4 separate regions of the Homo sapiens genome follow, and regions 1, 2 and 4 are each linked to region 3. The links are contacts of gene promoters, found by promoter capture Hi-C in human tissues and cell types (Jung and others, 2019). All regions are on one chromosome and are shown on one strand. Each heading gives the region's core, a stretch centred on a gene start or on the middle of the fragment in contact. The rest is flanking DNA. Distances are from core to core; before and after follow the strand shown.

Evidence for each region. Contacts are between HindIII fragments. The study calls those that stand out against the background at their distance.
Region 1: a fragment that was not itself captured here is called in contact with the fragment with the promoter of ABHD3 in region 3 in 2 of the 25 tissues and cell types used here (heart right ventricle and pancreas).
Region 2: a fragment that was not itself captured here is called in contact with the fragment with the promoter of ABHD3 in region 3 in 1 of the 25 tissues and cell types used here (heart right ventricle).
Region 4: a fragment that was not itself captured here is called in contact with the fragment with the promoter of ABHD3 in region 3 in 2 of the 25 tissues and cell types used here (aorta and lymphoblastoid cells).

What each region holds. Positions count from the first base shown.
Region 1 is chr18:21,484,596-21,487,727 of GRCh38, reverse strand. GREB1L (GREB1 like retinoic acid receptor coactivator) reads right to left here. Exons shown (of 33, transcript NM_001142966.3): 18 at 1,975-2,108. Among named protein-coding and RNA genes, the nearest start is that of GREB1L-AS1, 35 kb to the right of the region's middle. The HindIII fragment of the contact is 4,406 bases long and covers 1-3,132 here.
Region 2 is chr18:21,847,606-21,850,686 of GRCh38, reverse strand. MIB1 (MIB E3 ubiquitin protein ligase 1) reads right to left here. Exons shown (of 21, transcript NM_020774.4): 17 at 1,299-1,491. Among named protein-coding and RNA genes, the nearest start is that of MIR133A1HG, 18 kb to the right of the region's middle. The HindIII fragment of the contact is 5,232 bases long and covers 1-3,081 here.
Region 3 is chr18:21,703,398-21,706,585 of GRCh38, reverse strand. It overlaps ABHD3 (abhydrolase domain containing 3, phospholipase), which reads left to right and starts at 1,812. Exons shown (of 9, transcript NM_138340.5): 1 at 1,812-2,082; 2 at 2,839-3,002. The coding sequence starts at 1,921. It also overlaps a transcript of MIB1 not described here. RefSeq lists enhancers at 1,405-1,474, 2,935-3,084 and a silencer at 1,645-2,414. The HindIII fragment of the contact is 17,143 bases long and covers 1-3,188 here.
Region 4 is chr18:21,541,459-21,544,511 of GRCh38, reverse strand. All of the region lies in intron 8 of ESCO1 (establishment of sister chromatid cohesion N-acetyltransferase 1), which reads left to right. Among named protein-coding and RNA genes, the nearest start is that of ESCO1, 58 kb to the left of the region's middle. The HindIII fragment of the contact is 5,589 bases long and covers 1-3,053 here.

The DNA of each region.
Region 1 (3,132 bases), core at 137-2,636, 220 kb after region 3:
CGCCCAGCCCACTCTGCCTTTTCATAGAAAGAGAATGAGTTCAGGGGCAGAGAGAAGTTCAGCTGCTTGTCCCAGTTCATACAACTGATCAGAGACAAAGCTAGCTCTAGATTTTATCCAGCCTCTAGCAAGGTCTTCACACATTGCAAGGATTTAGCTGGCTGGGTAGAAATGAAGAAATCCTTCAGTTCAATAAATCCTGGGCTGGTCCCTTCAGGTATTCAGTAAGTCATAGCTACTATTAGGCTGGGGTGACTGGGTTGGAGGAAATAAGTATAGATAATCTATGTTTCAAGCTTAATGCTTTTTGCTGGGCCACGTAGAAAAGCCAAAGTTAGAATAAATGGTAACTTTGATATCTGGCATTTCTGTTTCATACTCTGGAAGAATCATGAAGTCAGAAGTGCACAGTTTCTCCAATCTGTCATGCTTGCATTAAACTATACTTACAACTTTTGTAGCACAAAACTACAATAGAAAGTTGATGAGATCATCATTTAAAATAAAAGTTAGGAAACTCTGAATGATGTTACCAGAAAAAGAAGATGCATTTCAAGCTGGTGGATGTAACAGGTGGGTAGGAATGCTTAAAGGGGGTACTCATGGAATGATTTTGGAAAATTAAGACTACATGTGCTGTGAAAGGATTAATGTCACAGTGTCAGTTAAGACTTTCCAAATCCAACAGCTGCAAAAATATCAAACCGTACTTGAGCCTGTGCTCTTTCCGGATGCAGTATTATAATCTACTGAATAGGATGCATCCATAGGTCCTCATTTTAATTTCCTTTTCTTTTTTCTTAGCAAAATTATGGACAGGTTTGTTAAATAGCTGTTAAATAATATGATCAATTAAAGCCATTCTAAGAACTATAGCTACTAAAAATTAGAATTTGCCCCATAAAATAAAGCCCAATCGCCCCAACATTGGATGATCAAACAGAATATTGTGGAGGGCAGAAAGGGACCTTTATTAGGTTAGGTAAATTCTAATGTCTCTACCTACCTCTGAATCTATGATTCAAGGTCACAGAGGGAAAAAAACTCTTTCAGAGTTTAATCTGAAAATGGGGATTTTTTTTTTCTTTTTTTAGAAAAGGGAAGAAAAGACAGCAGTTATGTTCCTTAATCCCTAAGGCCAGGGACTGGAGGAGGAGCCCCAAGAACTGAATTCACCTCAATTATCTGATTGCTCTTTAATTTCTTCCAGTGTATACTTCAAATCTCTCATAGTAAAGTTTAGTTTTTACTGAATCATCTTAGGGTCCTTGCCTGTGGTGGACAGGGGAGAAAAGAGGGAAAAATGTCAAAGTCTGAGGTGTAGGGTAGGAGAGGCCGGAGCTCAGAGAAGTGGGACTTTTTTTTTTTTTTTTTGAGACGGAGTCTCGCTCTGTCACCCAGGCTGGAGTGCAGTGGCGTGGTCTCGGCTCACTGCAAGCTCCACCTCCCGGGTTCACACCATTCTCCTGCCTCAGCCTCCCAAGTAGCTGGGACTACAGGCATCTGCCACCACGCCTGGCTAATTTTTCGTATTTTTAGTAGAGATGGGGTTTCACCGTGTTAGCCAGGGTGGTCTCGATCTCCTGATGTCATGGTCCGCCCGCCTCGGCCTCCCAAAGTGCTGGGATTACAGGCGTGGGCCACCGCGCCCAGCCAGAAGCGGGTCTTGAATAAGCAAATCCCTCTCTGCCCTATCCATCTCCTGATGATAGCAGTGAAGCATGACCGGGAGCTGACTCAGCATGAAAAGTAGTGCAATGGCCCACTTTGGTTGTATTTTCCTTTATTGATCTTGGATGATCACATAAAACAATAGTAGGGCATCTTAGGAAAGGCTGTTTTAATTTGGCCTTTGCACGTCATCTGCAAGGGCTCCATCAAACACCCCGTAGCACTGACACAAAAGGCTTTTGGCTATTTTAGATCTGCAAGTACAGCTAGAGAGAAGAGCAGAAGGCCTTATTTACTATTTACCTCTCCAAGAGTGTGTTCACCATTTTTTCAAAAGTCTCGTCACATCTCAGAAGTGGGCTCGTGATCCCCCACTGCAGAGACTTGCTGTACTCACTCAAGCCAAAGTACAGCTTCTCCTCGCAGCCCACGTCCTCCTGGTTCAAAATACAGAGCAAAAACCCAATGAGGACAGGATACAGTGTGTCTTGTTTTCCAGAAAGTGGGGTTTACAGAAATGACCGCTGTAAGAGGTTATTTCCTGACAAGTAAGAAAAAATACTGTTTCATTATGTAACCCGACACCAACTCTGCAGTCATCTCTGAGGCACTAAGTGAAACTTCTTTTAATTTCAAAGGAACTGAATATGTGATTAGTGGAAAGTTGACACACTTCCTTCAGGCACATGGTTTGTTTTCTTTTTTTTTTGTTGGGATACACAAGGTCAGACAGCCTCAATTCTCAGCCTTTTTCCCTGCTGGAAGTAGTTCTCTATACAGATAAATAGGCTTTCCTCAGAACGCTCTAGAGATTGACAAACTCCTCTGTTACAGAAACCTTAACTTTTCTGACATCATTTCATAATGATAACTCATAAAAGCTTATCTTTGCAAACAAATTTTACTTTAAAAATGGAATATATGCTTTCCTTTAACAGGATCCACAGTATTTAACGTAGCCCCCTCTTGATGAGTCAGTCATCACTATGAAAATGAATAGCTATTTTAGGATGTGACATAAGGATGCCCTCAGAGGATCTTGAGAAGTGTGACAAGTTGCTTATCCTTAAACTCAGAAGCTCTACGATATTAAATAAGCTTTTTGAGTTCATGAATCTGTTTTTGTTTGTAGCTTTCTTTTGCATCTTTTCTACATTAGTTTTTTACAGTCACTGCTTGCTGTCATGTTGCCTGTGCCATTTGGTCTCACTTTTGTTATTTTATTTTATTTTTGAGACCAAGTTTTGCTCTTGTTGCCCAGGCTGGAGTGCAATGGTGCGATCTTGGCTCACTGCAACCTCTGCCTCCCGGTTTCAAGCGATTCTCCTGCCTCAGCCTCCCGAGTGGCTGGGATTACAGGCACCCACCACCACGCCCAGCTAATTTCTTTTTTTGCATTTTTAGGAGAGACGGGGTTTCGCCACGTTGGCCAGGCTGGTCTCAAATTCCTGGACTCAGGTG
Region 2 (3,081 bases), core at 227-2,726, 140 kb before region 3:
CTATTAGTTCACCCTTCTCAGCTTTATGAATTGATCAAGCAGCTACATACATACAAGCACTCCAGTATTCCTATCAAAAATAACTTCCTTGTGCTTTTTCCTGTGCCAAAAATTCTACGAAAGATACATTAATTTGGATCATAAAAACCATCCAGGCTTAGAAGGTTGAAAGTAGAAGAAGCAGGGGCAAGGCAACACCTTTTAAGTCCCTGCCAGCTAATTCATTATGATAATTACTAACAGCTCCTTTCTTATTAATGATGGTTAATGAATAGCTTAAGAAAAAATAAATAGCAAGACAGAAATAAAGATTATAAAAAGAAGGGAATGGAAAAAGAGTATAAACTCCATGAGTTTTTACTTCAAAACCAACATGCTCTTTGGTTTAAACTATTCACCTTGAGAGAAACATTTGTAAGAAACTCAAATTTCACTTTATATGCAATACACACACACATTTGAGTATTGAAAAACTAAAAAATAAATTATTTCAGTAAACCAAAATTAGTAATCTGGTACAGTTATAATAAAGCACTAAGTTACTCAGAAAAGAACTATACTTCTCAAAAAGCAAAAGGAGTCAGGAGAGAGAAAAAGTTCAGAGTAGATATAGATTTTGGCCATCACTAATTACAGGGAGACAAGACTTTATTTGCCTCCAGATGGGACATAATGTAAAGTGTGTGGCACCAACTGTGAAGCTTTCTTGCCAAAAATGTTAAGCTGACCCTGATCAAACTATTACATCTAACTTCCAGCTTACAGGAAACACAGAAGATAGCAAGTTAAACAACACCACGATAGAACAATCAAATCTAGAATGTGTGACATTCTACCAAAAAAATGAATTATTTTACAAACATGAATGCAAAACAGTTTTTGTACTCCAAAAAAAGTGCAACATATAAGTAACTATAATCCAAAGTGGAAGTAAATGTATCCTTAGGTTATAGGGAGCTTTGAAAGCAAAATGGTAGATAATTTTAACTTTACCATACTTTAGATATAATGAAGGAAACACATTAAGAGCTAAAAAAATTTGACAGTAAAAATGGTGTATCAATAAACTCAAACAATAATTAACTTAGCAAATCAGTACATTAATAAGCAAGACTGTAAACAAGCAATAAAATAAGAAATTCTGATCTGATAAATGCAGAAATTATATATTCCTATATTTAAATCATTGTTTGGAAGAGCAAAATTACACAGACGCATGATGTCATTAAATCTTATTTATCATTAATTCTAGTCTCAACTTCATAAAATGACAAAATACTATATTAAATATATCTTACCTTTGTCCTGGATTGAACCTGTTCTTTACAGATGAGGCATTTCTTGACACGTGGAGAACATAAAGAACAGGTAGCAATATGTCCACATGGACCAAAAAGAGTATCTCTCTTCATATCTGAGCACACCATACACTCTTCTAAGGTTTCAGAATCATTACTAATCATAGAAGGACTCCGAGAACCCACTTGACCACTAATAAAAGAAAGTATTTCAAATCAAGCCTATCTTATTACAAATTCACTAATTAAAATGTTTTAAAATATACCTGGAGCATCATTAGTATACATAAAAACTAGTCATATTAAAAAATTAAGCTTTAACATCTGTATGTGAAACATTAAATTTTTGTGTTTATATGCGTCTCTGCATCTTTAGATACTTCTAACACAATTCAAACTTCAAACTGAACACTCACTCACCCAATGGAAAAGGGTGAATCTTCTAACAATGAAATAAAAAACAGCAATTAAAAAAAAAACTTAGCATAAACAAAATTTTGCTCAGAACCTGTTGTATCTATATAGAACCAGCAGAGGAAGGCATAGGAATAAAACAAAAATCCTCACTAGCCCCCATGTTAGTTGCCTTACTAAAGACGGAACAAAGCATCATCAGAGTCCACAACAGATAGGGCACTTTGGAAAATTTAACACTTCAGCTGCTGTTTTGACATTTTTAAGTGTATCCTTAAGGAACATAAAATTATATTACAGAAAGATAGACTGCATCCGTAAACACAGATACAAGGAACAGAAATACATATGACCACCTACAGCTACAGAAAAGGGATGCCCTGTTTCTACCACAATCTTCAGAAACTCACGAACACGTACACAACACGTACACAGAGGGTCCACCTTAGACTCCATTGTTTAAAAGTTATTACTGCAATAATTATAGTGCCTTATATCTTTATATTTATAGATTTTTTTTTTTGGAGACAGAATTTTGCTCTTGTTGCCCAGGCTGGAGTACAGTGGTGTGATCTCGGCTCACTGCTGCAACCTCCGCCTCCCGGTTCAAGCAATTCTCCTGCCTCAGCCTCCCAAGTAGCTGGGATTATAGGCATGCGCCCAGCTAGTTTTTGTATTTTTAGTAGAGACAGGGTCTCACCATGTTAGTCAGGCTGGTCTTGAACTCCTGACCTCAATCCACCTGCCTCGGCCTCCCAAAGTGCTCAGATTACAGGTGTGAGCCACCACGCCCGGCCGATGCATTCTCTTTTTGTAATAGAATTTCATGTTCCTTAACAATACACTTAAAGAAATGTATATACCTCACTATATTAATTTCCTCTATAACACAGTTCTATGCACAGATTCCAAAGAGATGACATTTCATCACTACACATAAATTATGAGAGAGGCAAGGAACACTAAGGTTAAGGAACAGCTACTGAAATTTCAGTGACAAGAACCAGGTACAAAGGGCAACAACAGTTGCACAGCACTGTTCAGATTTAAAAAAGCAATGAGATGTGTACCTTTTTGTACATCTATAAAATCTCATAAGGAAATTAGTTATGTCATAAATAATAATTAAAATCACTGACATATCTTTCAGAAAAAGAGACAAATGTGAAATGATCATCTTTAGAGAAAACTCCACCAGGACTTGGTGCATTCATTTGTTCATTCTCCACTGATACTGAGTGCACCTGTCAGGCACTGAGCAGGGTGCTACAGTTTGTGTGAGATATACCCTGTTCATGGAGTATAAGTTGCCTGTCTTAGGAAGATTCTATTTAAATTTTAAATATAGAGCCAGGCACAGTGGCACATG
Region 3 (3,188 bases), core at 563-3,062:
CACCCACCCGGAACTCCCGCTGGCCCGTGATCGCGGGGCACAGCAGCCCCGGTTCCCGCCCACGCCTCTCTCTCCACACCTCCCTGCAAGCAGAGGGAGCTGGCTCCGGCCTCAGCCAGCCCAGAGAGGGGCTCCCACAGTGCAGCAGCGGGCTGAAGGGCTCCTCAAACGCGGCCAGAGTGGATGCCCTGGCCTGAGGAGGTGCTGAGAGCGAGCGAGGGCTGCTAGCACGTTGTCACCTCTCACCAGCACTTTGGGAGGCCGAGGCGAGTGGATCAGGAGTTCCAGACCAGCCTGGTCAACATGGTGAAACCCTGTCTCTACTGAAAATACAAGATTAGCTGGGTGTGGTTGTGCATGCCTGTAATCCCAGGTACTCGGGAGGCTGAGGCAGGAGAATCACGTGAACCCGGGAGGTGGAGGTTGCAGTGACCCGAGATCTCGCCATTGCACTCCAGCCTGGGCAACAAGAGCAAAACTCTGTCTCAAAAAACAAAACAAAACAAAACAGAACAAACTTAAACTGAAATACGCATGCATTTATTGGTAGGTAGTGCAGAAGGCTGGTGCAGGGGTTATGAAGAATGCTATGAAGTTTCAAGTATGGCAACCAGCATATGCATTCACGTTTGCTATGTGTGCTCAGGTGTGAGAGCCAGAGCGTGAAAATTACTTCTGCTCACGGGGAGTCCAGTATATACACTATCTTGTCCTCTCGGGAACTCTATAAAGTAGAAATTGTTACGCTACAGATTATTAAAACAAGAAAAAAACAGGCTCAGTAAAGGTAATTGAATTATTTTGGGTGCTGCAGCCAACCACCAAGTTGCAATGACCAAATCGGAGCCAAATAAATTGCTCACTTCTGGTCCGTCTCATGTCCCCATCTAAATTACATCATTAATTTACAATCCTTTGGCATTTTTCATAATCTAGACAGCACTTTCCCTTCTTTCGTCTGTTTAAGTCTTGCCATTCTTCCTACCTCTCTGAGGAAGGAGTTCATAAGAGTAGGAATAGGCTATTAAATTCTAACCATTTCAGATAACCATAAGTATCCTGATTTATCATATTGCCATAAATAAGCCTAGGAGACCCTACTTCATAAATGGTTTCTTGTCTGTACATTAGGTAATCGGTGTGAATTTCCATAAGTCTCTAAATTCAAAGCATTAATGAACCACAAATAGGCTTTTAACAATTGAATCCCGGTTGCTATTCTTGACCTTTTCATTTATTTTCAGAGACCACTTCTCATTTAAGTGACACTTAGCAACTAAAAAGATTCACAGAGTGATTCAGAGTCGAGTATGATGTCCTCACTGTTGAATGCTCATAGAATATTTTTTCTCTTTCCATAGTCTTGAGGACCAACGCAAACGTCTAGAGGATGTGGGATTCTTACCTGCTAACATATCTTTGGCATTAACTCCCCAAATCTTTGAATGCAAGGCACGCTTACCTGACACCCTAAACTGCTAGTTTAGGGACACCCGCCGCAGAGCGGAATCGTTCAAGGTCACTGGGGCTGCAGGTGCGGGGCCTTAACCAGCGCTGCCGATCCGTCAGCTCTCGGCCCACCCTTGGGGATCCCCATCGCCCACTGCGACCTAGCTGGGAGAACCCAGTCCGCCCGCCCTCCCGGTGGCCGGTCTTGGAACCGCGCTTCTGGAAGGTTCCTGAGTGGCTGGCAGTGGGGGCGGCTCCAGGAAGCCGGGGCGGAGCGGGCGGCGTTGGAGTCTCGGGCTACGCCTCCCTGGGCCGCTCCGCCCCGCCCGTTGTCGGAAGCCGCGCTCCGCCAGGCAGGAGACACTGTGGTCGGGAGTAGGCAGCGGCGCCGCGTCCGCTCTCGCCCGCTCTCGCCCGCTCGCCAGCCGGCTCTCCTCCCGCCGCAGGACCCGCGCGCCGCGCTCGGGGGCCATGCAGCGCCTGGCCATGGACCTGCGGATGTTGTCCCGGGAGCTCTCCCTCTACCTGGAACACCAAGTCCGGGTGGGGTTCTTCGGCTCGGGGGTGGGCTTATCCCTTATCCTGGGCTTCAGCGTCGCTTATGCCTTCTACTACCTGAGCAGCATTGCCAAGGTGAGCCGGGGGTGGCGCAGGGCCGCGGGCTGCTGGGCCAGGAGCTAGGGTAGCAGGCGCGGCGCGAGGCTGCGCGGCCAGGGGCGGTCGGCAGCCCCGGGGATAGGCGGCGAGCTGCTCCCGAGCGGCAGCCCCCAGCGCGCGCGGGAAAGCCAACAGGCCCCGCCCGTTCGCCCGCCCCCTGGGGGTCCCGGCCGGGTGGTCCTCGGAGCGCAGCCTGAACCCGGCTGACTTCTGCGCTGCGGCGCTGCCCGGTCACCGATCGCGAAGCCGGCGGCGCACTCGGGAACGCCGTGGCGCTTTTGAAAATGACTCCGGGCAGGGCACGGTGGCTCACGCCTGTAATCTCAGCACTTTGGGAGCCCGAGGCGGGTGGATCACCTGAGGTCAAGAGTTCGAGACCAGCCTGACCAAAATGGTGAAACCCCGTTACAATTACAAAAAATTAGCCGGGCGTGGTGGCGGACGCCTGCAATCCCAGCTACTCGGGAGGCTGAGGCAGGAGAATCCCCTGAACCCGGGAGGCGGAGTTAAAAACAAACAAACTCCCTTATCGCGATTCTCGCCTTCCCCTCGGGGCATTGGCGAAACCCCCGTTTCAGTCCTCTGTGACTGTGAATTTTTTGCGTCAGCCCTCCAGAAAGAGTTGTAATCGGAGGAAGCGCGCGCGCGAGCGACAAGTCTTTGCCGGTTTCTGGTTTACGGTTGGCAGAAACTTTGCTCTGGGCCCTTCTCTGATACTGCTTTTCCCTTCAGAAACCCCAGTTAGTGACCGGGGGTGAGAGTTTCAGCCGCTTCCTTCAAGACCACTGTCCCGTGGTTACAGAAACGTACTACCCGACGGTCTGGTGCTGGGAGGGTCGAGGACAGACCCTGCTTAGACCTTTCATCACTTCGAAGCCCCCGGTGCAGTACAGGAAGTAAGTGAATTTCCGTTTTCAGTCATTTCTGCAAAATCACAGGTTGTTTGTTTGCTTGCTTGCTTATTCCCAGTTCTTGGTTAATAGAATCTGCTTTAGGAAGTATATAGAACAGAAAGAGGGAATGAAAATGGAAGGTACGTCCCCGGCTCCACCCCCAGCTGCAGGAAAATACCCCAGCTGCAG
Region 4 (3,053 bases), core at 318-2,817, 160 kb after region 3:
GATTACAGGTGCATGCCACCACGCTTGTCTAGTTTTTGTTTTTTTTTTGTTTTTTTTTTGTATTTTTAGTAGAAACGAGGTTTCACCAGGTTAGCCAGGCTGGTCTCGAACTTCTGACCTCAGGTAATCCGCCTGCCTTGGCCCCCAAAAGTGCTGGGATTACAGGTGTGAGCCACCATGCCCCACCTCTAAATATGTATTGCTTAAAGATGAAGATTACTCCTTTTTTGTTTGTTTTGAGTTGGAGTCTCGCTCTGTCGCCCAGGCTGGAGTGCAGTGGCGCGATCTCGGCTCACTGCAACCTCTGTCCCCTGGGTTCAAGCAATTCTCCTGCCTCAGCCTCCCAAGTAGCTGGGACTACAGGCGTGCACCACCACACCCAGCTAATTTTTTTGTATTTTTAGTAGAGACAGGGTTTCACCGTGTTAGCCAGGATGGTCTCGATCTCCTGACCTTGTGATCCGCCTTCCTCAGCCTCTCAAAGTGCTGGGATTGCAGGTGTGAGCCACTGCGCTTGGCCAAAGATTATTCCTTTTTTAAACATAAAAGTACCTTAAAGAATATAACTACACCTTCAATAAATGAATTAATTGTTGAAATCAAGTTTTCTATCAGAGTTCAAAGCTTCCCAAATAGCTCATGATTTCCTATGTTGCTTATTTGTTTGAATTAGGGTTTATATATTACATTGGTTGTTATGTCCCTTTAGTATCTTTTAATCCCAAAGTTCTCCCTGGTTCTGTTTTTTTCCCTTGTAATATTTGTTTATTTTTTGAAAAGCTGGTTGTTGGTTTTATTTCTTCAAATATTCCTTCAAATGTATATTCTCATTCAACCTTTTCATGAAATTGTGATTAATGTGAACTTTTAAAGTCGGGGTATTATTTATACAATTAAATCTACACATCTTAAGTGTTTGGTTTGAATTTTGATCATTGTATATACTCAGTGTATTTACCACTCAGTGTATTTTGTTTCCAATTGTAATCCTTTTTTTGATGGAAAAAGGAGAAATCCATTCTTTAGACTGTACAGTTTAGAGTAACTCCAATAGCAAGGAGAAAAGAGTAATAATTTCTTAATCCCAACACTTTGGAAGGCCAAGGCTGGCGGATCACCTGAGGTCGGGAGTTCGAAACCAGCCTGACCAACATGGAGAAACCCTGTTTCTACTAAAAATACAAAAAAAATCAGCTCGGCGTGGTGGCACATGCCTGTGATCCCAACTACTCGGGAGGCTGAGGCAGGAGAATTGCTTGAACCCGGGAGGCGGAGGTTGCAGTGAGCCGAGATTGCGCCATTGCACTCCAGCCTGGGCAACAAGATTGAAACTGTCTCAAAAAAAAAAATAAATAAAATAATAATAATTTCTTGCTGTTAGAAATACAAATTAGGAATATAAAGTTTTCTGCTTTTCATGAAGCAGAAATGGATGAAGTAAGAAAAAATGGGTTTTGGAAAATACTACTTGTTAGCAGAGGGTTATGTGTAACATACTAGTCCTGAAATATGTTGGAGCTAAAGGTCAGAAGTGTAAGTGCACTGCATTGGAATTTATTTCTTTGCAAAAACGTTGTGGCTATTTGATTATTCTTCTAAATTGCATGCACTCTTTCCTGAACCCTGCTTCTCCTCTGCCTTAATTTTAAGCATTGGATGGACTTTATCGCCTCTAAGTTTCTCTGAAGTAAGGAGGGTCATGTGGTTATTGTGACTAGCAGTTAACTGTAGTTGAGGCATAGATATGTCTTGAGTATGTTATTTGAACAAATATTAGCTAACTTGTTTCTTTCATCTTTTATTTGCCTATGATTTGAATTTATTGCTGTATTTACCCTTGGGAACATTTATTGATTGACTGTTTTGTTAGATTAGTGCATTGATCTTAGTTTGATACTAGTAAGAAGGGAGAATGGAAGTTGCTAAGAGTTACTTAGTGGCTACTCTTTGAGCAGTCATCTTAAATACAGCACCCTCGTACCTACCCAAGTGATGGAGGTGATGATAGCCATTTTTTAGAATGCTAAGATCAGGAAACAGAATCAGAGTTCCAGTGATTTGCCTAAGGCCATGCATCTAGTAACTACCAAGAACAAGGATCTAAACCCTGAACTTTTACTCTAGAGTTACTTAAAAGTTTTCACTGAAATATGCTTTCTTAGCTTGGCATGGTGGTGCACGCCTGTAGTCCCAGCTACTTGGGAGGCTGAAGCAAGAGGATTGCTTGAGCCCCAGGAGTTTGAAGCTGCTGTGAGCTGTGATCTTGCCACTGCACTCCAGCCTGGGTGACAGAGTGAGACTCTGTCTCAAATAAGTAAATTACATTAATAAATAAAACTTGCTGTTTTCATGAACATTAGAAATCTAAGCAATACTAAGTATCCTTTTGCAGCCTTTGCTTCTTAAAGGGCTTTTATTTAGTACATGAAAAAAAGGTACTATTTAAAACATAAAATTATATCAAATGGAATTGTGATAAAAATTTCGGCATGAACATACAAGTCTGAAGTTGTTTCAAGAGAAAGTTTTGCACTCAAAAATTAGTAAAGCAAAATAATTTGTCTAATGTCTATAATGCAATATAATGACATGAAACCAGTATTACTGTTTTCAAAGGCATTTAATAGGAAAATAGTTTATGGAACTGTCTTTAGATGATTCAGTTCAGGAAGAATGGTTTTCTTATAACTTGAGGTTACTTACATTTTTAGGTCTTTTCGATGTTTTAAAGTGAAAATCTCTTTTCATTTTATTAAAAATAGGTTCATAAATTTAAAAGCTTTTTCATAAAGTAACATTAGTAATAGAAATTTGTTTTTAAAGAGGTGATGTCTTGTAAATCTTCTAAAAATTGTTTACCTATATTCAGATCTCTATATGATTCAGATTTACTTTCTTTCTTTTTTTTTTTTTTTTTTTGGGACAGTGTCTCGCTCTGTCACCCAGGCTGGAGTGCAATGGCGCGAACTCAGCTCACTGCAACCTCCACCTCCCGAGTTCAAGCAATTCTCCTGCCTCAGCCTCCTGAGTAGCCAGAACTACAGGCGCGTGCC